Regions from separate parts of the Homo sapiens genome. Here all the other regions are linked to region 5. The links are contacts of gene promoters, found by promoter capture Hi-C in blood cells and fetal thymus (Javierre and others, 2016). All regions are on one chromosome and are shown on one strand. Each heading gives the region's core, a stretch centred on a gene start or on the middle of the fragment in contact. The rest is flanking DNA. Distances are from core to core; before and after follow the strand shown. Region 1 overlaps SETD3 (SET domain containing 3, actin N3(tau)-histidine methyltransferase). Region 2 overlaps CYP46A1 (cytochrome P450 family 46 subfamily A member 1). Region 3 overlaps BCL11B (BCL11 transcription factor B). Region 4 overlaps SETD3 (SET domain containing 3, actin N3(tau)-histidine methyltransferase). Region 5 holds the start of VRK1 (VRK serine/threonine kinase 1). Region 6 overlaps SETD3 (SET domain containing 3, actin N3(tau)-histidine methyltransferase). Region 7 overlaps LOC105370660 (a long non-coding RNA gene).

Region 1 (3,191 bases), core at 73-2,572, 2.6 Mb before region 5:
TCTAAAACATTTATATTTAGATGAGTCTTACAGTCTCAAAAGCCCATTTTTACAATAGCAGACAAGTCTCTCCGAACAACCTGTCCCCCCACACCCTCCGTGCACACAGGTCTGACTCACCTCTGGTTCCCTGCTATTCTTCAGACACCAGAAGATTCCTTCGCTCTTGCTGTCGCCTCTGCCTAAGACCCTCCATTCCTTAGGCACTTACGGGACTCACTCATAGACCTCCTCCAGCGTGGCTGCCCTGAGCACCCTATGTGGAATGACTACGCCTCCAGCTCATCCGCCCTCCTGCCCTGTCCTGTTACATTTCCCTCTATTGTCCAGATCCGCTTGTTTCTGCCTTTTTAAAAAATTATTGTTGGTTCACCCCCCCGCCTCCCATTAGAATGGAAGATCCATGAACGCAGGGTGATTTTGGGGGAGGGTCTGTTTTGCTCATTGCTATATCGCTGTGGTTTTTAATGAATTCATGACCGGTAAATAAATGACTGTAAAAGCCCCATGCCTAGGAAAAAAGATCAGAAAGAAATAAACCAAAATGTTAACGTGATTGTGATCTTTTTTCTTTGTTTTTTAAAAAATATTTTCCAAATTTTATTTGATGAGCCTGTATTACTTTATCCTCCCCCCCCCCATGAAATCAATATAATACATATTTGTGGAAGAAAATTTGAAAAACACAGAGAAGAAAATGTAAATGGTCCTCACTCTGTTTCCATCTTAGGGATGTGTGTGTATGTATATCGTGCTCTTCCTCCTATGTTACTTTTAATATGTAAACGAAACTAGAATACAGCTGTGCACCAAGTGTGCCATTGAGTTACCAAGCCAGCCACAGATGTGAGTGGTGTGCGCTGCAGGCAGGTGGTGGCTTTCAGGGAGCAGGGCTCCATGGAGCTGCTGGAGGCTTCCACTCCCTGCTGGGTTCCTCCTCCAGCATTGCCAACAAACTCCGGCTGCCACCCGCTCCCCTCCCCTGGGCACACTTGAGACTCCTGTGGGGCTATTCTCAGTTCCACTTGCTTTTATATATACGTATATATATAAATTTTTTTCTCCCTGTGTCTTTTCCACTAGATGTCCCTATGGGTAGGGACTGAGACTTTTCATGCCATTTTCCAAGTGCCTCGCTTAGGGCCTGGCATAGTATGGCACTCAGTATTGTAGAAGGGAAGTTAGCTGGCAGTGTGGGAGGCAGGAAGCGGCACGTGGAGCTGGGCGAGGAGGAGGTGGAAGGACCCTGTCCTTGCTTGACATCGGGTGGCTGCCCCTGGACCAGCCCTGGCCTTCCCAACCCCTCCTCTCCTAGTCTGGGCTTCAAGTCAGACCTGGTCAGCGTCTGCAGATTTCTGGGCGTAGGTGGTAATTTCCTGGGGCTCCTGCCAGAAGGCCCTTGCTGAGCAGTGGGGTCCTTACAGCCTTGGAAGGCCCCTCTGCAGGCCCACCCTGGGAGGGCTCTGCTCTGAGAGAGTCCTCTAGAAACCTGGCTTCAGGCAAGGGAGGGGCGAGGCCTGTGCTTCCGCCTGCACTTCTTTGCACTGAGACACACTTGATACCGTCCTAGAGGAAGTGTTTGGCAGTGCCACACAAAGAAGTTAGACACTCAGCCTCCAAACATTCTGACCCTTGCTGAGAAAGGGCTGCAGACCGGGGCAGGATCCCAGCCTGTTTGCCTGTCCGGGTTGCTGTGGACATGTTAAACTATTTCTTGAGCTTGACGTTTGCTGAGAGTGGGAAATATCTGTAAAATACCCTTAAACACCCATAATCCTTTCTCCACAATCTCCCTAAATTTTCTCTTCCTTCCTCTAACCTCCCTCCTGTTTGTGCTGCTGGCAGGTCCCTGTGTACCTGTACTGCCAGCACCCTGGGAGTGCCTGGACTCCCTCCTGGGAGTTCATGATATGGGCAGCTTCTCATTCCACTTTGTTGTCAAGGTGATGTTTTGGGGTCAGAAAAGTACATCCGATGTTGGGCAGGAACTTCATGGAGTTGATTTTCATTCAATTGAAGTGTTTAAAATGTTCTGCGAGTGAAATGTTCTAGAATACTTGGCTTCATTTATTTCTCATTGCTGCATATTTATCACTGGTCTTTGCAGATCAGAAGCATGAAGGAAATTTAGACATATGGTTAATAAACCATATTTATTCTTGGGATATTGAGTTTAAAGATTAGTGTTACATGGCCTTCCATCCCAAAATGCCATTCCCTAGACTCAGAAGTCATCTTTTGAATCCAAGCTATTGATACCTTATTAGCAAGGAGCACTTGTAGCTGCTGTGAATCTTTGATTCTCCAGGATAAAATGAGTAGGTCAAAAAGTAATCAGTGACCATCGACAGACAACCTAAGAGATTGGGCGCTGCTCTAAAAGACAGGACTCTGAGAAGGAGGTTTTAATAGAAGCTGGGGACCCTTTCCTTTCCCCTGCGGGTTCATGCATCACGTGAATATTCTCAAAGACCACTTCAGGTTTTAGGTTCTGTGTGCTGAGCACTCGGGACACAGAGATCAACAAGGGGCTCCAGCTTCCAAGTGTGACCGACGGGGAGGCAGGTGCACAGATAACGTGACTTGGGCTGGAGCGCATAAGGACTGGGCTGTGGGAGTGCACAGGAGGGCAGGGTAAGGAGGGGCTTCCCTGAGAAGCCAGGCCACAACAGGAGTAGAAGGTAGTGTCAGGCAGGAGGGAACTGGGATGGCAGGTGGGTGGCAGTTCCTGAAGCTGGAGGGAAGCGTGAGCCGCCTCCTTATTCGGCCGTGCTCAGGAACTTGGGGTTTATTCCGAAGGCAGAGCGGAATCATAGGAAGATTTTGAACAGGAGAGTGACATCGTACAATTAGCAACTCCAGAAGGACAGTATTGGATTTTGAGACTAGGTTCCAAGAGTTGGAAGGTTTTTGCAAATAACAAGCTAGGTGAGAAGGAATAAGGACTATAGCCATGCAGAGGAATGAGGAAGAAAGTCCAAACAGTATTTACAAGATGAAATGCTGACCAGGTGAGACGCGAGGGTTTCCTTGTAACTTGTGTGCTGAGGCCATGACATTGGCTGACCTTCACTAAGACGGGGGAGCTTAGAAGGAGACGCAGGTTTGGGGTATAATGAGAGGATTTTCTATATTTATTTGTAATGGACTTAGAAACTCTCACATTGTATTTCTCAGCAGAAAGAGAGGGC
Region 2 (2,972 bases), core at 289-2,788, 2.9 Mb before region 5:
TTCACAGACAGGAGGACCGAGGCATGGGGAGGTTACAGCACTGGCTCAGGGACACCAGGCAGTAAGAATGAAGACAGGATGCAAACCCAGGTCTGACCAGCTCCAAAGACCCCCTTGGAGAAGAAACAGTTTTTTTTCCTGTCTCCCTGGCACAGAAGTTGGGGGCTGGCAGATAGAAAGGACTCAATAATATTGTGTGGGATCACCCTCAGATATTCCCCAATACTGACCAGGCTGGGCACCACCACGCTAGGCTTCACCCCTCCAACCTCCCCACATGGCTGATCAGTCTGTTATTAACCGTATTATATAGGACAGCCGAGATGAAAGGGTGAAGTCATTTGCCCACAATTGCACAGCTGGTACCAGGGCTCCCCAAAGCCCATCTCAGCAAGGGATGGTTTGGTCATATAAATCTGCTGTGTTCACCAAATTGTAAAGAAGCCAGTGCAGTGTCATCCTGAAGCTCATTCCAAGGGGCCCATGACTTCCTGTCTCCTGTATGACTTTATTCCTACCAAGCTCAATGCAGCATCCCCAATGGGTGACAACAAAATCACGTTCTCCCAGGGAAAGGCGGAGAGTAAATAAACAAGTAAAGACAATGTCAGAGGGTGATAGGAGAAAAAGAGAACAGAGTACGGGGAAGAGGAAGGGCTGGGGATGAGTGTGTGGGTGTCCGTTTAAAACCCATTTATGCCTAGTGTTCCATTATTGGAACGCTAAGCTTGTGGAAGTTATTTATGTCCTACTGCTCAAGGTCAACACCAAGGTCTGATTTTTCAAATTCAAAAAATTGCAACCTCAGGCATAAATGGGTTAATGCAGGCAGGGCACGCAGTGTCCCTCTAAGAGGGTGGCTTGTGAGATGAGACCTGCAAGAAGCGGGGGAAGAGCCTTCCAAGCAATGGGAACAGCAGGTGCCAAGGTCCTGAGGTCAGAGTGTGCTTGGACAGTGAGGAAGCCAGTGTGGCTCGGGCAGAGTACTTGAGGGAAACAGAGTACAAGGTGGGTCACCAAGACTGGGGGCAGGTCATGTAGAGCCTTGTGGGCTGTGGTCCAGATTTTTGCTTTGACTTTGGTGAGCTGGGGTCCACTAGAGGGTTTTGAGCAGAGCAGAGATGGGATCTGACTTGGGTTTGAATGGATTGTTTTGCAGCAGTGCAGAGAGTAACCAGGGTAGGGGAGGAAGCAGGGACACTAGTGACAGGGAAGGACTGGGAGAGGTGACGAGGGCTCAGAACAGAGCAGGGCAGCGGAGGCAATGATAAGAAGAGGTCAGATTCTGAATGCTCTGTGAGGCGGAATACTGGAACGTGCCGTTTGGCTATGGGGGTGTGAGGATGACTCTGTGTTTTTGGCCTGGGCTGCTGGAAGAATGGATGGAGCGACCATCTACCAAGATGAGGAGGAGCTGGTTGGGGTGGCAGAGCCACCGTGCCCACCCCCTGCAATTTGCCAGGGCCGTCTCTGGCTCTGCCCACAGGAGATGAACCCACTTTGAGCAGCCCTCCACCAATGACCTCAGCCCCTCCACTTCTGGGGTAGCTCTGGGCATGTGCTCTACACAAGTCCCCAGGGTTCCCAGGGAATTGCACCTGTTTCCCCAAGAGGTAACTTGTTTTATTGGTTTGTTTACCTTCTTTATCCACTCTCCTCCTCCCACTGCTCAAACTGGGATCATCCCCCACCTCCTAAACTACTTACACTTCATTTCTTATCTCAGGATCAGCTTTGGGGGGACCAATCTCAGACAAGCAGATGAAATTAGGAGCTTGGCTTGGGACCGGTAAGGTTTGTGGTGGACTATTGAGCAGGAAGTTAGACACTCAGATCTGGAGCCCAGGGAAGGGCTGTAGGCTAGAGACATAAATTTGAGAGCCCACAGCAGAGAAGTGGTATTTCCAGCCCAGTGATTGGATGAGGCCACAAGGGAATGGATACAGACAGAGAAGAGGACCAAGAACTAAGCCATCACTGAGAAGTTGGGAGCATAGGGACAGCCAGCCAAGTGGACTGAGCGGGAGCACTGGGGAGGAGGGAAGAGAGCCAGGAGAGTTGGGTGAGAAGCCAGAGGAGGATGCGGGACAAGGCGGAGGGGGCATCGGCTCTGCCCAGGCTGCTGGGGGCCAGGTCAGACGAGGATCCAGGGCTGACGGCTGGGTGCGACAACATGGAGATCACCGGGAACCGAGCCCCCAGCAAGTTTGGTGGAGAGGTATGGGGCAGAGAGAACCAGAGGGGAGAAAAGGGAGGCCCAAAGGCAGGCAGTCAGCCAGGTGGGTTACCATAGGGGGCGGCAGCTACAGGGAACGAGAGGGTGAAGGGAAAGGTTTTGTTCCAAGCTTTGAATTCTTACATATTATATAAAAATGGGGATGATGCAGAAGAGGAGGAAAAGTGCTGATTTGGAGGTGGGGGTGCTCCTAGGACAGGGTTGCTGAGCAGAGGGGGCAGGTTGGCCTGGGCTACCCTCCCGGAACAGCTGGAAGGTGTGCGTGGGCCTGGGGCAGGAGGTGGGCAGCTGCTCAGTGGAGCCCAGGAAGGAAACTCTCACCGGCTGCTCCCTTTGCTCAGGGAAGTAGGAGGCAAGAATAAAAGCTGAGAGTGCGGATGGAGGGGGAGGTGATGGGGACTGAAGCAGGAAGGGAGAGTAGGCGAATAAACGCCCTGGGGAAGGAAGTACGGGGTGGCCGCCTGCCCGCAGTGGAGGCCCACGCCAGGTGAGTGGCCTTGAACTTGCAGGAAGATGGGCTGTGATCATCACACATGCCTGGATGTATTTCCAGAGTAATCTAGTGTCCTCATTGTCGCTTCCCAAAGCTCACATTCTGGGGGAATGTTCTCAGTTTTGAGTCACTTAAGTGAGGACAGAGTCTGAGCCCAGAGCTTCCACCCTAACCCCTGGGGTTCCCTGCCACATGGGAAGGAAGGTGAGTGCCATCTCAGGAAGACAGAGGGCACAGAGAGGG
Region 3 (3,066 bases), core at 48-2,547, 2.5 Mb before region 5:
CAGTTTTCTGGAGAAGTGCGGAGACAGGCAGCAGGTGACAGGAGGTGGCAGATCCCTCTGGGCTTGGAGGTGGCAGGCAGCCCTGGCTGCGATGTCCCTGCCCACTTGATATGTCTTCATCCACAACCTAGGGAGGACGCGGGATCTACCTGGGAGATTCTCTTAGCAGGTGGGGCACAGATAAGGGTTTGGTTTGGGGCCCCAGTGACCCATTGCTAAGCAAAATGTGTGAGAGAAAAGGACTTCTGACGAGCCCAGGGATTTACGTGCTGCTTTGGGAATGTTCTCTCCAGACTTTTAAAAATAAATAAAATAAACGTGAAAAAAAATATTAGCTTGGCTAGTGAGAGAAACTAAATAACTTGCTTGTGCTGGAAACTGGAGATAAACCCCACTCGCAGGTTGCCTTAAAAAACTTGCACTTGATCTATTTAGAGTTGTTATTTTCCCTTCAAATTAAGATGCGTTAAATCCATGTGTGTTGTGGCATGGATTATCTTTTTTTATTATTAAATCATGACAGCTAATTATTAGTTCTGTCTGCACCGAGGAATAGTGCAGTGTTCTGTCTGAGGGACATGGCCCTGGGCTCAGGCTGGGGTTTGGGTGTTGGGATGGCTGAACAGGGCAGAGTTTGGGCTGGGCTGGTGGGTGGTGGGGAAGAGGGGCGCTACCTGGTATTCCTCATTGTGCTAGATGCTTTTCTTGGGTTATCTCACTTAATTCTTCAACCTTGAAATATATATTTCTAACCCTACTTTGAACTGGGGCTCAGAGAGGTTAAGGGAGTTGCTGAAGGTCACACAGCAAAGCAGAGTCAGACTCAGTCAGGCCTAGTTTCCTTGGATAGCAAGGGGTGTGGAGGATTTTGGGGATGGGTATTCTAACTCTGTCTGTCTGGCTGGTGGGGCCTTGATGGCGGGCACCACCTCTGACCCCATCCAAAATGGTCTTTGAAGCCCATCCCAGATATGACCCTGTGGATACAGCCAGAAGTCCTCAGACCCCCAGGGACCATGGCCTTCAGTCTGTGGCTTTTGTATATACTGTCCTGTACTTCCTAATGAGGGCATTGGAGAGATGGGTGGTGACAAAGAATGAAGTACACTGTAAATTCAGGTGCACCTGGGCCAGAATTTTAGATTTTTTCCCATACATATGATTATTTCTTTTATTTTATATTCACTGTTGCATAGACTTTTCCCCCATAAATACAAATTATTTGTTTTATTTTGTGGAATTGTGGTTTTGCCAGGGTCTTGCTATGTGACTGTCAGCCAACTGTTTGCCTCCCCAGGTCTCGGTACCTATAACTGGAGATAATGTTCCTTGTGTTTTGGGCTTGTTATAAGGTTTGATTCAGACAAGGTATACATAGAACAGGTTCCTGTGGGTTTTAGCTGTTGTTGATAATGGAGATCCTGCCGGTGGGATCCAGAGGAAGGGTCTGGCTTCCTAGCCTCCTGGAAGGACCTTGCTGCCAACTCTTCCCTTCTCACCTGCTCAGTGACTTGTCTGAACTTACATAACTAGTTACTGGCAGAGCTGAGTCCAGACCCCAATTATCTCGAGTCAGGACAGGTGACTTTTTGCCATCCCAGGGTGCCCACCCCTGTAGCTTGAGGCCATCTCCCCTGGTGGAGTCCCAGTTTCCTCAGCTGAGAAAGGGGGTGAGCCCTTCCTGTCCCACTGGCCTTCCAGGGAGGCGGTGGACCCACCTGCCATGTGAACTGTGCAAACCAGAGTCAAGAGTGTGTGCCGCTAACATGGTGACATCAGCACCGATTGTAGTTGAAAGTTTTATTGGATTAAAAAAAAGACAGACAATACTGGTCACATAAATGGGTGTTTTTTTTTTCTCTTAAGGTTTGAGGCCTTATTTATTGTTTTATGTACGTAGTTCCATACTTCCAGCAGTAATTCAGGAAACAGGAGAGAGAGATAAGGTAAGAAAAAGAGAGAAAGGCAGCTGGGCTCCCAAGGGGTGAACTTAACCAACATTCAGCCTGAGTTAATATTATTATTCTTAGTTTGTCTATTTGACAGTAAATAGTTAGTATTGACTAAAGTTTTTTTAATCAGGCATTTGACAGCTTTTTTGAGTGGTTGTTGCTCATTTGCATGCTTGGCTAATGAATTAACCACCAGGTCTAGAATCTGTTAGGAGTGGGCTCTGCTGATAATCTATAGAAATAAGGCTGACTGGCTGTCACCCTGTGCCTTTGGGGTCATCTTTTCACTGAGGAAACAAAGAGATGGAGTTTTTCCTAATTTCATGTAAAATTTATTTATTTATTTTTGAGACAGAGTCTCGCTGTCGCCCAGGCTGGAGTGCAAGGGCGCGATCTCAGCTCACCAAAACCTCTGCCTCCTAGGTTCAAGAGATTCTCCTGCTGGGCACGGGGGCTCACGCCTGTAATCTCAGGACTTTGGGAGGCCGAGGCGGGGGGATCATGAGGTCAGGTGATCGAGACCATCCTGGCTAACACGGTGAAACTCCGTCTCGACTAAAAATACAAAAAATTAGCTGGGCATGGTGGCGGGTGCCTGTAGTCCCAGCTACTCAGGAGGCTGAGGCAGGAGAATGGTGTGAACCCAGGAGGTGGAGCTTGCAGTGAGCCGAGATCATGCCACTGTACTCCAGCCTGGGCGACAGAAGGAGATTCCATCTCAAAAAAAAAAAAAAAAAAAAGATTCTCCTGTCTCAGCCTCCTGAGTAGTTGGGATTACAGGCGCCTGCCTGGCTAATTTTTGTAGTTTTAGTGAGATGGGGTTTTGCCATGTTGGCCAGGCTGGTCTCAAACTCCTGTATTCAGGTGATCCACCCGCCTCGGCCTCCCAAACTGTTGGGATTACAGGCACGAGCCACCGCACCCAGCCTGATGTTAAATTTAACTCATACTTACTAGATCTTACTGTGTGCCAGACACTATTCTAAAGACTCTGCAGATACTAACTGGTGTAATCCTCCCTATGACCTTATGATATGCTAATATCAGCCCCACTTTATAGAAGAGGAAACTGAAGCCCAGAGATGTTAAGTTATTTACCCAAGGTCACACAGCG
Region 4 (3,194 bases), core at 151-2,650, 2.7 Mb before region 5:
GTTAGTGAATAAGTGACTAAAATATTACAGTCAAGGGGTGAACGGGGAGGCAGAGATAGGAGGTACATGATGACGTCTGTAGAGGGACTGGGAGCCCTTGGTGTTGCTGGGAGGGTGTTTTACATATTTTTGCTGGTTTCCTTTTATTCCAGGGTGACTGACCCTGTATATTTTACACTGATTTTTAGGAGACTTATTAGATTAACATGTTACACATTATTCTTTATACATTAGATACATAAGAGAAGATAGCAATGTTAGCCTGTTAAATAATGTGATTTCCTACTATTTAGGGTGGTGGCAGCGTGAGGGTAGATTTAAGCAGCAGGGACAGGCTTGGGCAGGGAGATGTACGAGACTAGTGTTAGGGTCTAACCATGAGGACTCGTTCAGGAGGTGCAGGAGGAAGTGGCTGGAGCTGCCTAGGTGTGGGCTGAGTGGCTGCTGGCAGGGTTGTGGCGGGGTGTGGGGCCATATCCCATGGTATTTGATCTGGAAGACCTGCTGCCATGTACTTTTTTTTTTTTTTTTTTAAATCTGTATTTAAACAGAGGCAGTGTGGTAGTGGTTCTGGGTTCAGATTCTAGCTGTACCTCTTACCTGATGCATGACCTTGGACAAAGAGAAGGGACTTAACCTTTCTGACAATGTCATCTGAAAGATGAGGATGGTATCTACTGCTTAAAGTGCGAGGAAGATCAAATGAAGAGCTCTGTCTTAGTCCAGCACCTGGCAGAGGGTAAATACTGAGCTCCAGGGAACAGCTGCTGTTACATCAATGAGCAACTGGAGTTGGGTGGATAGCTGAGAGAAGACTTTGGAGGAGGTGAGGGGCTGCAGGCAGAGCGAATAGAGCCTGTTTTGTAGCTGTTGGTGGGCACCCTGTGAGGGCCGGTGCAGAACAGCCCTGTCCCAGGCTCACTTACTGTTAAGAGAAGGGAAAGGGTCTTGGAGCTCCTCATCAAAGTGACGTTCTTGCCTCGTTTACAGGCTCCCACAGCAGAAGGTCTTTCAGGCAAGGCTGAAGGGAGAGGCCAGCTAAGCCATTGCTGACAGGATGCTTCTGCGTCTCCTCCTGCCAAGCCAGCAGACCCACTATATTTGGAAGTGTGATTAACGTCCTTATTACCAGACTCCTTGGTGGTTTTAGTTATTTTCAGGTCAAGTTCGATGGTCCTCCAGAGATGCCCTCCGCAGATATGGGAAGCCTGAAATGCCCAGAAGGGTGGAGGTGCTGTGTCCAGGCTGTGCCCTTGCTCTTGGCTGTGAGCCAGAACCATGGGGAGATTTTTTTCTCTTCTAAGAAGACATTTCTTAAGCATAGGAAAAGGTGCTTAAGCTGTCTGTCATCCTGCCCTCCCCTCACTTAAATTTTCTGCTTTTGATCACAGAAAAAAAATTCCTTGTATTGCTGCAAAAGTTTTATGTATTTTTACCAGTTTCCTTTTATTCCAGGATGACTGACACTGTGTATTTTACACTGATTTTTAGAAGACTTATTATATTAATGTGTTACACATTATTCTTTATACGTTAGATACATAAGAGAAGATACACACGTTAGCCTGTTAAATAATGTGATGTCCTACTGTTTTAGCACATGGCCATATTTGCATGGACTCAGTTACAGCAGAGTCAATGATCATCTGTATAGTGGGAGAATATGTTTTAAACCTTTGTCCTAGCATAGTTCTTCACATGGTGATAGTTACCACTTTTTGTAAAAAACAAATGGACCAAAGTCTGCTTTTTGATTCTCACTTGAGATAAAGTGTAACTGACTGGGGCTCCTGGAGGCCATCCTCGTGGTGGTTTGTTATTCATTAGCTTATGGATCGCCCTACCAGCTTCTTGGCTGGACACTTTTTCCATCTTCCTTGGTCATGATCTTAGCCCCTTGTCTCTGGAGAATCAAAGCCAGACTCCTCTGGCAGTGACTATCACCCTGTCTTGAGTGGCTGCCTCGCTAGGCTTCCCTAGAGACCCCCTCTCCAGCCGGGTTCCCTTCCTCACTGTGCTTCCCTCACGCTTCTAGTCCTGTCCCTGTCTTTGAATGCCCCCCCCCCCCCCCGCCATTCTTCACACATCCATGTCCCTTACTTTCTTTGAGACCTATTGTTAAAAGCACTTGCAAGCAAGCATTATCTCATAGGGTCTTTACCCAGGACACCATGGCGTGTCCTATACCACATGGTCTCATCTGCGTGTGAAAATATGCTCATCATTTCTCACATGCCCGCAGAGGACCCGTGTGTGGCACACTGGAACGCGACGGGAGACCTCGTTCAAGTCCCGGGTCTGCCATCAGCTTCCTGTGAAATCCCAGGCAAGGTGCTTGGGATTTCCCATGGAGCAAAATGCAGGAGTTAGACTAGCTCGCCAGAGTTTTTTCCAGCTCTAAAACGTCTTCAGCATTTGTCCAGAGAGTGTGATCAGTTGCTTATGATACAGTTATGGTTAATGGGAAATGATTATTTTAAGGCAAAGTGGGGAGAGAATATATAGGTCTTTATGCCCATATGTGTATGATGTATGCATGGGTTTTATCTCTCTAGTATCCTGGAATATGTTAGTCTGCACAGTGAAATCTATGTAATTAAAAAAAAATCTAGAGTAAAATTTGCTCTACTATAGTTTTTGTAGGTGAAAAAGAACGAACTTTTCTTCCAGAGACTACAAAGCAGATTTTTTTTTTTCCCATTTGAGAACCTCTAGATACTAATACTACACATTTCTTTTTCTGGAAGAAAACTTCATGTAAGGTAAGATCTTAGCCTCTGAAGACTAAGACACTGCCATGTGTTGGACATGTTTTATTACTTGATTTTGTTCTTTGGTAATGTAATTTTTTTCTCTTTTCTTTCTCTTCTCTGTAGTCAGAAAAATGGGTAAGAAGAGTCGAGTAAAAACTCAGAAATCTGGCACTGGTGCTACAGCAACTGTGTCACCAAAGGAAATCTTGAACCTGACCAGTGAGCTGCTGCAGAGTAAGTCCTCCTCTGGGCTCTCCCTGCCTTGATGTGGTGGCTGTGCCTTTTTCTTCTTTGTCACCAGAATGGGGACGCGTGCATCAGACAAGCTGGTATTCAGGTCCAAGCTTATTAGCTGTGGGCCTGGGCGAGTCACAGAGGTTCCCAGGCTTGCAGTCCTCACCTGTGAGGATGGAAACACCCGTCAGAACTGTGTGGCTGTTA
Region 5 (3,051 bases), core at 432-2,931:
TGGTATTTGTACTGGATACCAGAACTAAATTGACAGTAACGCCTAACACAAGTTTATTGTTATTAAATTCAAGTTGTGTTACTGTATTAACACAGAATCTGATCAGCAATGTTGAGATGTAGAGAATACCATCTGTGGTAGCATCAACAGAGAAAGCTATTATTAAGTGACTACTTAAGTTACATTCCCTTCTATAGGTAACAGATGAACATAATCTTATCTACCCAGAAATTTAATTCCAATCACTACATGCCATTTTGAAGAACATAAACGTAACCTACATAAAATGACTATATAAAGAACCCTTGCTTCCTTCTGAAAATGCTTCAAAATTCTAGATTAAATTCTCCCCCAAAGTATCATGCTCAGCATGTCATAAAGAAAGGTGCCTTTATTGTCAACTCTTGAAAATAAATGCTGCCCTACTTTTTTTTACTCTTGAATTTCAGTCTCAACAGATGGGCAATTCCAGTTTAAAAAAAAAGAAGAAGAAAAGAAAAACACACACACAATAATTAATGAAGTTCTTCAACAGTTCCCTAAAACCAACATCCTCCCAATAGCAAATTGTATTTCCAAGTTGTTCCAAGAAAGGGACACAGGAAAGGGAAGGGAAGAGTCTATACAAAGGAAAACAAAAATGAGTGACTTGAAAGAAAGGACATCAGAAAAATGGGTGGCCTCAACAGGAACCTATAGTGTCTGACTCTGCTGCTGTCTGTCGAATTTAATTCTACCACCTAAGAGTTTTGAGACGAGAACCACAATACTATTTCGGTGGTAGGAAAAACTATGCGTTGCCCCTGAATGGAGCTGCAACAGTAAAGGATGCCACCCTGCCAGGTAAGGACAGAATGAGGAGGAACTGTCAAACGGTTATGAAAGTCCCTTGCAAAACACACAAGCGGCTCTAACTGCCTTGCACCAGACAGACCCTCAAGTACAGGATCACGGGGCCTCCCCGCGATGTGACAGGGAAATAACGGGCGGCCTCGCGGTCCCCAGGCCTGGCTGCTATCCTCAGGGGTCGGCCTCCCCTCTCAGGTCTCAAGTCAAAGGTCACATCCTCTGAGATGCCCTCCCGGATCACCTAACCTAAAGAGCCTCGCCCCCATTCCTCTAGCCCGCAACTGCCTGTCCCGTTTCTAAGAAAGCATTTCCGTATCCGCAAAACATCGCAGCTGCGTGTGTTGTTTCCCTTCTACAGAGTGAGCTCTGCGGGGCAGGGGCCTCGCCTGCGCTGTTCACCCGGAGCCCCGCCTGACAGAACCGGCTTCCCGGTGAGGCCCGAGGCGGCGTTTGCGAGCTCGGCCGCGACACCACGCGCGTCCAGAACGTGGAGCTCAGATGGGGGCCGGCCTGGCCAGTCCAGGCATCCCCGGGGGCGCCTGCGGGGCCTGAACGAGACAAGGAAGGAGCGGACGCCCGCGCAGGCGGAAGCCACGCGGCGGAGCGCGGTCCCGCGGGGCGACCGAGGCTGACGGCGACTCCCGCACCCCGGTGGACCCACAGGCCGCCCGGAAGGCCCAGTGCCGGCCCCAGCCCCGGCCGCCCGCCTCCGCGCCCCCGGCTCGGCGCGCGAGTCCTCGAGCCGTGTCGCCTGCGGCCTCCCTACCCTAAGCCGCAGACCCGTCGCGTTCTGCCCAGTACGAACTTCCCGCCGCTTTCGCCGACTCGTAACTCGGCAGCGGCGCCGGCCCCTTCGCACCCTGCAGTATGGAGCCTTCCCATTGGCTCGGAGGCGACGAGGAGGGGCGGGACGAGTGGTAACGCGAGGCGCGGGGCGGAGGCTACGCTAGCCCCGCGCCTCCCCGGGAATGCCGGGAGCTGTGGTCCAGCGCTCCCAAGGCATCCTGGGAGTTGGAGTCTCTTAGCGGCAAAGGGAGATCCCCGTCCTTCTGCTCCCTGGTCTTCTAGGAAATGTGGTTTACAGCCTTGTTCGTAGTAGCTTGATTTATTAAGTGTATTGGCAGAGAGTTGGGTGTAAAATAAGTTTCCTGTTTCTGTTAGGATTAAATGAAATAATCTATAGGCAGTACTTTAAACTTAGTTGGTGCTCAATAAATAGCAGATAGTGTTAGTATTATTCTGCCCACTCATTGATATGTGTCTAAATCCTACCTGTTTTTCGAAGCCTATTTCAAAGCATATCTCAATGTCTACCTAATCATCTATAGTGTTTCATCTGTAATCAACGTATGCCACAGTTTGCATTGTGTTTATTATTTATTTTTATTTATTTATTTTTTTGAGACGGAGTCTCACTCTGTCGCCCAGGCTGGAGTACAGTGGCACAGTCTCGGCTCACTGCAAGCTCCGTCTCCCGGGTTCACGCCATTCTCCTGCCTCAGCCTCCCGAGTAGCTGGGACTACAGGCGCTCGCCATCACGCCCAGCTAATTTTTTTCTGTTTTTAGTAGAGACGGGGTTTCACCGTGTTAGCCAGGATGGTCTCGATCTCCTGACCTTGTGATCCGCCCGCCTTGGCCTCGCCAAGTGCTGGGATTACAGGCGTGAGCCACCGCGCCCGGCCGCATTGTGTTTATTATAATCAGCTAAGTCTCCATCACCCATGAGGCTGAGAGCTTATTGGGCACTGGGTCATTGTTCTAGGTCAAAATCACTGAAGTCACAGGCAGAGGGAGATTAACAATGAAGCCAATGAAGCGTAAGCTTCAGGACCTCACTTGCGCAGGTCCCTCAATGAGTTTACATAGCTTTGGGGGTTTATTTGTCGATTTTACTTTTCTTTTTCTTTTTTTTAAAGATATAGTCTCACTTTGTCACCCAGGCTGCAATGCATTGGCGCGATCTCGGTTCACTGCAGCCACGACCTCCTGGGCTCAAGCAATCCTCCCACCTCAACCCTCCGAGTAGCTGGGATTACACGCACAGGCCACCACTTCTGGCTAATTTTTGTATTTTTTGTAGAGACAGGGTTTGACCATGTTGCCCAGGCTGGTCTTGAACTCCTGAGCTCAAACAATCCACCCCGCCTCAGCCTCCCAAAGTGCTAGAATTACAGGCATGAGCCACCACACCCAGCTGATTT
Region 6 (2,732 bases), core at 21-2,520, 2.6 Mb before region 5:
ATTCAGCTTCTCCCAGACTTCACTCCCATTGTGCATGTGTGTGTGCATATCTGTGCACCCAGGGCAGGGAGGGCTTTATTCAGAGAGCAGAGATCTTTCTTTACTCTTCTCCTCCTCAGTGGGAGCCAGTGCTAAACTTGGTTCCTGGATTCAACTCGAGTGAGCATAAGTCACCTGGGAAACTTACTGAAAACGCTGTTTCCTGGGCTTCCCTCTCTGGGCCCATCAGGCCCATCTTGAGCCATCAAGGCTGGGCTCACTCCCCCTCCCCTCTCGTTTAATGGCTGGGGGTAGTGACTGCTTGTCTTTGGACCCACTCCAGAATATCTTACCATTTCCTCTATACTTCACAGTTTTCATCTGTTTCAAAGAATGAAAACAGGTGTGTGGAATTGAGGAGACCAAAATAAATCCTTAAGCATATAAGGTAGGCCTTATGGAGGCCTTAAAATTACTTGATTTTCATAAGTAACTTTGGGACTTAAAAAGATTCAGATGGGTTTCTATATTGGATTTGCTTCTGTTCAAGACTCCTGGTGTTGAGGCACCTCTTCCTCACGTTTTAACTAGCCAGTGTCTGTCTGGAGTACAGAGCACATGTTTCAAAGAACTTGGATATATCCAAAACCCATAAATTTAGGACTGAAATAGGATGTTAGTTATCAGATGACTGAGTGAATGCTGAACATATATGGAAACAAAAGAGACAAGAAATGGTATAACCATATTAATGACAATCATGAAACAGACCAAATGCCTCGCACCCTAAGCAAAGTCTCTTACATCCCGTTTAAGAGAATCGGGGTGCTCTGTTTATGTTTAGATTTCTTGGCTTCTTTCCATTCCATCTCAGAGTTTCCCCTGCGTCTCACCAGTGCTCCTTTTCTTCACTTTTCTTTTCTTGTCCAGCCTGTGCCCTTGGTGGTGTGATGCCTCCTGTGTCTGTGTTCTGTCACTTACTTGCCCTCCCTTGTGTCTTTCTTTTTTCTTCATCCTTTTAAATCCTCTTCTTTTTTTCCTGCAAATATGTTTGGTTCCTGTGAACAGAACAGTTCAGTGCAGAAGGGCACTAACATTTACTGGGTTCCTGGATCATGGAGTGGAGATCCCATGGAGCAGAGGCACAGGCAGCACCCAGGGAGCATGCAGTGAGTGAGAAATGACTCCTGGAGACACCGTATTATGGCAGATTCCAGCCCATCTTGACTAATAGTCATATGTTTGTGTGAATTTTTTTGAGAAGTACACCCAGAAGTTCATAATTAAAATTTTTTTTTCTTTGCTGCTTAGAGGCTTAAAACACACATTTATTATCTCACAGTTTGTGTGGGTCAGAAAGGCAGGCATGGCTTAGTTGGGCTGTCTGCTGCAGGGTCTCTCTCAAAGCTGCAGTTAGGGTGTGGTCTCATCTGAAGGTGTGACTGGGGAAGGGTGCCTTCCATGCCCACTCCTGTGATTGGCAGCAGGCTTCAGTTCATCAGTGCCTGGGTTTCTTGCTGGCAGTTGCTAGAGGCCACCCTCAGTTCCTTGCCACATCAGGCCCATAGATTTTATCAGATTCTCAAACTTCACCTACCCCCTCCCCACATTTTCTCACTTCCTCCATCACTTGTTTTGTTTTTCTTTCTTTTTTCTTGAGACGGGGACTTACTCTGTCACCCAGGCTGAGTGCAGTGGCATGATCTCGGCTTACTGCAAACTCCACCTCCTTGGCTCAAACAATCCTCCCACCTCAGCTTTCCGAGTTGGTGGGACTACAGGTGTGTGCCACCACACCTAGCTAATGTTTGTATTTTTTGGTAGTGATGGAGTTTTGCCCTGCTGCCCAGGCTGATCTCGAATTCCTCACCTCAAGTGATCTGCCCTCCTGGGCCTCCCAAAATGCTAGGATTACAGGTGTGAGCCACTGCACCCAACCCCTCCACCACTTGTTTTGATTCATCCTTTGGCAGATTACTTTTCCTAAATGCTGAAGACCAGGGGGTGCTCAGTGTCTACAAAGTCCTTGTTCCTGGATGGATACTAACTTACTGACACCTCTCAAGTGCCAGCAAACTCTGGTAGCAGGGATTGTCTTCATTTTACATGTGAAGTAACAGACCAGATGGGTAGCACTGCTTGGGGCCACATAGCTAATACTCTAATGCTCCTGCCGTGGGCACTGTGCCACCCTCTGCAGGGCCTCATGTGTTGGGACTGCACTGGCATTGCACCTTTTCATCCCTCTGTGTGCCAATCGATTCTGCAAACCCCAGCTGCTCAGCTTCCCTTAACAAGCCCTCCTTTCCCTGCCTCTGCCATTTCCGGTACTCTCTGTCTGGGATGTCTCCCTTCCCACATGGAAAATCCTGCCCATCTTTAGAGACTTAACTCGCATGCCACCTCCTCTGTGAGTCATTGCCAGATCCCCCTCTTCCCGACAGTGACTGCAGCTTCTTTTCTGAATTCCAGCACGTGTCATGTATCCTGGTGTGACACGTCACAGTTTGCCTGTCTGGGCTCCCTGCTCCAAAGTCGTTGGCTCCTTAAAAGCAGGGAACTCATCTTGCTCATTGTCCCCCCACAATGCCTTGCACGCAGCAGACACACAGTGCAGGTTTGGGGAGTTGACGGACGAAGCTTTGCTGGGAAGCTTTAAGATGAGATTAAAGTGGCTCTGAAGCTGCAGAAATGTGCATTAGTACATCAAGGATAAAATTATACCACTTTATGCCTTGGCCTCCTTTATCGTT
Region 7 (3,126 bases), core at 400-2,899, 2.5 Mb before region 5:
GACTTGCCAACCTCCAGAAATGTGAGAAATCAACGTCTATTCTTTTTTTTTTTTTTTTTTTTTTTTTGAGATGGAGTCTCACTCTGTCACCCAGGCTGGAGTAAAATGGCGTGATCTCGGCTCACTGTAACCTCCGCCTCCCAAGCTCAAGCGATTCTCCTGTTTCAGCATCCTGAGTAGCTGGGATTACAGGCACCTACCATCATGCCTGGCTAATTTTTGTATTTTTGTAGAGATGGGGTTTCACCATGTTGGCCAGGCTGGTCTTGAACTCCTGACCTCAGGTGATCTGCCCGCCTTGGCCTCCCAAAGTGCTGGGATTACAGGCATGAGCCACTGCGCCCGGCAATATCTATTCTGTATACATTACGCGGTCTCAGGTATTTTGTTACAGCAGCGCTGAGACAAGATGCTTCATCAATATTAGTCGATTATGTACCAGTGAAATCTGGGGGAAATTTCCCATTTCATTCCTGAAATATTGACGTGTGTACCTTAGACTGAGTTGAATGTGAATCTCTTGTTTCATGAGTAAAACGCCTCCATAATAATATCTATCATTTATTCAATGCCTCCTCTGTGCCAGGCCTGTGCTGGGGGCTTTCTGAGAGGTCATCTGATGAGATGCTCACAGAGGCGTTGATAGAGGAGGACCTGGGATGTCGAGAAGAGAAACCGCATGAAGGCTTTTGCAGCTAGCAGCGGGCGCAGCGGAGACTTGACCCTGGCGATCTCGGAGGCGTATATCAAGCTGTGTGTGCCCTGTCCTGCTTTTCTCACAGGCTGCTGGGAGGACAAACTCAAGTCAGGGAAGCAAAAGGGCTTTGTACACTAAAACTCTGTCCCAACATGAGTTGTTTGTCTGTTTCAAATTTTACCAGCAGAAACGTCTGTCTTACCCCACTCTCTCCACCCCATTTCTCTCTGCCTCAATTATCTGGTTTCATAACCGTGGTGTGTCTTGTTGGATTTTGCTGTCTCAAACAAACAAACAAACAAACAAAATCTCTTCTACTAACTGAGTATACTGTGTCCTTAATGCAAACTTTGTTTCTCTGTAATTCTCTTCCTTCCTCCATGTCTCGATCCAGCACTGACTTTGTCTTTGCTGTTCTGGTTCCACATCTGGTGATGTTTTCAGCTGCCTGTTATTGGCTTGCAGGATGGCTGGAAATCCAACCTGGGTATAGGACGGCATAGTGGTTATACACAGAGACAGACCTGGGGTGATTTGGGCTCTACCTCGTGGTGGCTGACTTCGGGTTTCCTGTCTAAGGGGGATGAAAGTCTTTCTCTTCTGAGGATTAGATAAGATAAATGCCTCACAATGTAATTAGACAGAGTGTCTCTTTGAATGAGTAGGTCTTGAGGGTCTTGGAAGAATTCTGCAATCTGTGCTCAGGACCCCTGAGCCCTGCTGCTTTGCTCCCATGGCACTTGGGACACATGGCCATGAGTCCATGTGATGGGCTGTACTCTCACTACTATAATTGCTGAACTATGTCATCAACTTTTGTTTTCCCTTGCTCTGTTCTTTGGAGCTGGGGTGGTGTGTCAGATTCAGGCTTGCCTGAACTTGGAACCTCAGTACCACCACCTCACAATATTGCCATCTTTGGGCCCTGTCCCCCATGGTGTGCTTGGCATACAGCAGGCGTCCCATCCGCGTGTGTTGTTGAAGGAACAAATCACAGCCATGCTTATGATGCGACTGCTGCATGGCGAGAGACCGGGCCAGGCGCTTTGCTAAGACCCACTCATCACCGCTTATACAGAGCGGTGAAGCCCATCTGACAGGGAGACCACAGAGCCTGAGAAATGAATGCCCTTTCCCCAGCCGACTCAGCCAAAGCCTGAGCTTCCAGATGGGCACCCTGGCAGCATGTAGCAGGCCAGGGTTTGCAGGGCAGGGGAGCCATTCTACTTCAAGGCAGCAGGCAGCCCTCATGGCTGGTGGGGAGGCTACTGACAGTCACTAGCTGTGACTACTAGCAGGCAGGTTTTAGGGAATGACGCCTCGATTTTTCACTTTGAGGAAACCCTTGATGTGCACCGTGGCAGTGGCAGAGGCTAATCGCGTGGATCTGGGAGCTAATGCAGCTGCTGTAATTCCTGTCACCTTCTCACAGCTCAGTGGGAGCTTCCGATGAATAAATCGTGGCATTCAGGGGCTGCATACATCAGTGGCAGGTGTCACCGTCATAGGTCGGGCAGGGCACTGGTGCTCCACCTTGCCTTGTCTTTAATTAAAGGAGGAAATATGTCAGAACTGACAGGACCACTGACCAGCCTACCAGGTCCTTTCCAGTCGCAGTGAAATCAACCGTTAAAGATGCTCATCTCAAGAGGAGAACGAGTCTCTTATGCTTCTGGGGAGAAATCACCATCTGGCGAGGGTTTCCTGGCCTTTGGGGGTCCCCCTGCTACCTCCTCTGAGCCATCTGGGGCTCCCCTGCATTTGCCCCTTACTTGGGAACTGTAACCCTTAGGGATCAGAGGGAGCATGGGAACAAAACAATTCAATAAAGTCACAATAAAGCATCCAAAGCCCTTCATACTTTTTCACTTTCTTTAACTCAATTTATTTTTCATTTTGTGGACAGAGATTTAGTCTGGGTATTAGTTTATGATTTTTACTGAAGGAATTACTCAACACACACACATATAAAAAGGAAATATTATTTTTATCATTTATTTTGTGCCATGTATACCATAGGAGAAAAAAACGGAGCGAAATCACTTCAGTACCGCTGTGTTTTTCATTACAAAGTTATTACATATAGAAATTACTCCAAATTATCTGAAATGAATGGAAATTATGAGGTTTAAATTCCCCAGGTTACTGCAGGCACAGCTCTGGAAATTTATTTTGTCATCTTGCTGAACATAATTGCTACAACAAAATTTCTTCCATTTTACAACTGCAGCATAACTTATTTATACCGGTGTAGCTGTAATTTTACATCAATAAGTTGCATGGGAAGGAATACACAGGTGGTAATTGAAAACAATAATTTGTACTGAGGTCCAGGTGGAACGGTTGGCTCAGAAAAAGGCTCCAGTTATTATCGGCAACAGCTTTGTGTCACTGCGGCCTCTTCTCATCCCCTTAGCCAACACTGGTCA

What was found. The method cuts DNA at HindIII sites, captures the fragments that hold promoters and counts their contacts. A CHiCAGO score of 5 or more calls a contact.
Region 1: a fragment that was not itself captured here is called in contact with the fragment with the promoter of VRK1 in region 5 in 7 of 17 cell types (non-activated CD4 T cells, fetal thymus, total CD4 T cells and 4 more); the score reaches 9.1 in non-activated CD4 T cells.
Region 2: a fragment that was not itself captured here is called in contact with the fragment with the promoter of VRK1 in region 5 in 1 of 17 cell types (activated CD4 T cells); the score reaches 5.7 in activated CD4 T cells.
Region 3: a contact is called between a fragment that was not itself captured here and the fragment with the promoter of VRK1 in region 5, in 1 of 17 cell types (endothelial precursors). The highest score is 5.2, in endothelial precursors.
Region 4: a contact is called between a fragment that was not itself captured here and the fragment with the promoter of VRK1 in region 5, in 1 of 17 cell types (naive CD8 T cells). The highest score is 6.2, in naive CD8 T cells.
Region 6: a contact is called between a fragment that was not itself captured here and the fragment with the promoter of VRK1 in region 5, in 5 of 17 cell types (total CD4 T cells, total CD8 T cells, naive CD4 T cells and 2 more). The highest score is 8.1, in total CD4 T cells.
Region 7: a contact is called between a fragment that was not itself captured here and the fragment with the promoter of VRK1 in region 5, in 7 of 17 cell types (endothelial precursors, naive CD8 T cells, fetal thymus and 4 more). The highest score is 11.6, in endothelial precursors.

Annotation. Positions count from the first base shown.
Region 1 is chr14:99,407,169-99,410,359 of GRCh38, reverse strand. All of the region lies in intron 8 of SETD3 (SET domain containing 3, actin N3(tau)-histidine methyltransferase), which reads left to right. Among named protein-coding and RNA genes, the nearest start is that of SETD3, 72 kb to the left of the region's middle. RefSeq lists an enhancer at 1,374-1,940. The HindIII fragment of the contact is 4,765 bases long and covers 1-3,191 here.
Region 2 is chr14:99,688,023-99,690,994 of GRCh38, reverse strand. All of the region lies in intron 1 of CYP46A1 (cytochrome P450 family 46 subfamily A member 1), which reads right to left. Among named protein-coding and RNA genes, the nearest start is that of CYP46A1, 5.2 kb to the right of the region's middle. The HindIII fragment of the contact is 1,618 bases long and covers 730-2,347 here.
Region 3 is chr14:99,249,660-99,252,725 of GRCh38, reverse strand. All of the region lies in intron 2 of BCL11B (BCL11 transcription factor B), which reads left to right. Among named protein-coding and RNA genes, the nearest start is that of BCL11B, 21 kb to the left of the region's middle. The HindIII fragment of the contact is 5,573 bases long and covers 1-3,066 here.
Region 4 is chr14:99,465,496-99,468,689 of GRCh38, reverse strand. SETD3 (SET domain containing 3, actin N3(tau)-histidine methyltransferase) reads left to right here. Exons shown (of 13, transcript NM_032233.3): 2 at 2,877-2,987. The coding sequence starts at 2,885. Among named protein-coding and RNA genes, the nearest start is that of SETD3, 14 kb to the left of the region's middle. The HindIII fragment of the contact is 3,398 bases long and covers 1-3,099 here.
Region 5 is chr14:96,796,012-96,799,062 of GRCh38, reverse strand. VRK1 (VRK serine/threonine kinase 1) reads right to left here and starts at 1,681. Exons shown (of 13, transcript NM_003384.3): 1 at 1,616-1,681. RefSeq lists an enhancer at 824-1,355 and silencers at 1,300-1,589, 1,600-1,799. The HindIII fragment of the contact is 2,825 bases long and covers 1-2,674 here.
Region 6 is chr14:99,427,549-99,430,280 of GRCh38, reverse strand. The region is part of intron 6 of SETD3 (SET domain containing 3, actin N3(tau)-histidine methyltransferase); the gene reads left to right. Among named protein-coding and RNA genes, the nearest start is that of SETD3, 52 kb to the left of the region's middle. The HindIII fragment of the contact is 2,703 bases long and covers 1-2,621 here.
Region 7 is chr14:99,279,198-99,282,323 of GRCh38, reverse strand. LOC105370660 (a long non-coding RNA gene) reads left to right here. Exons shown (of 3, transcript XR_001750881.2): 3 at 587-2,313. Among named protein-coding and RNA genes, the nearest start is that of BCL11B, 8.6 kb to the right of the region's middle. The HindIII fragment of the contact is 8,266 bases long and covers 1-3,126 here.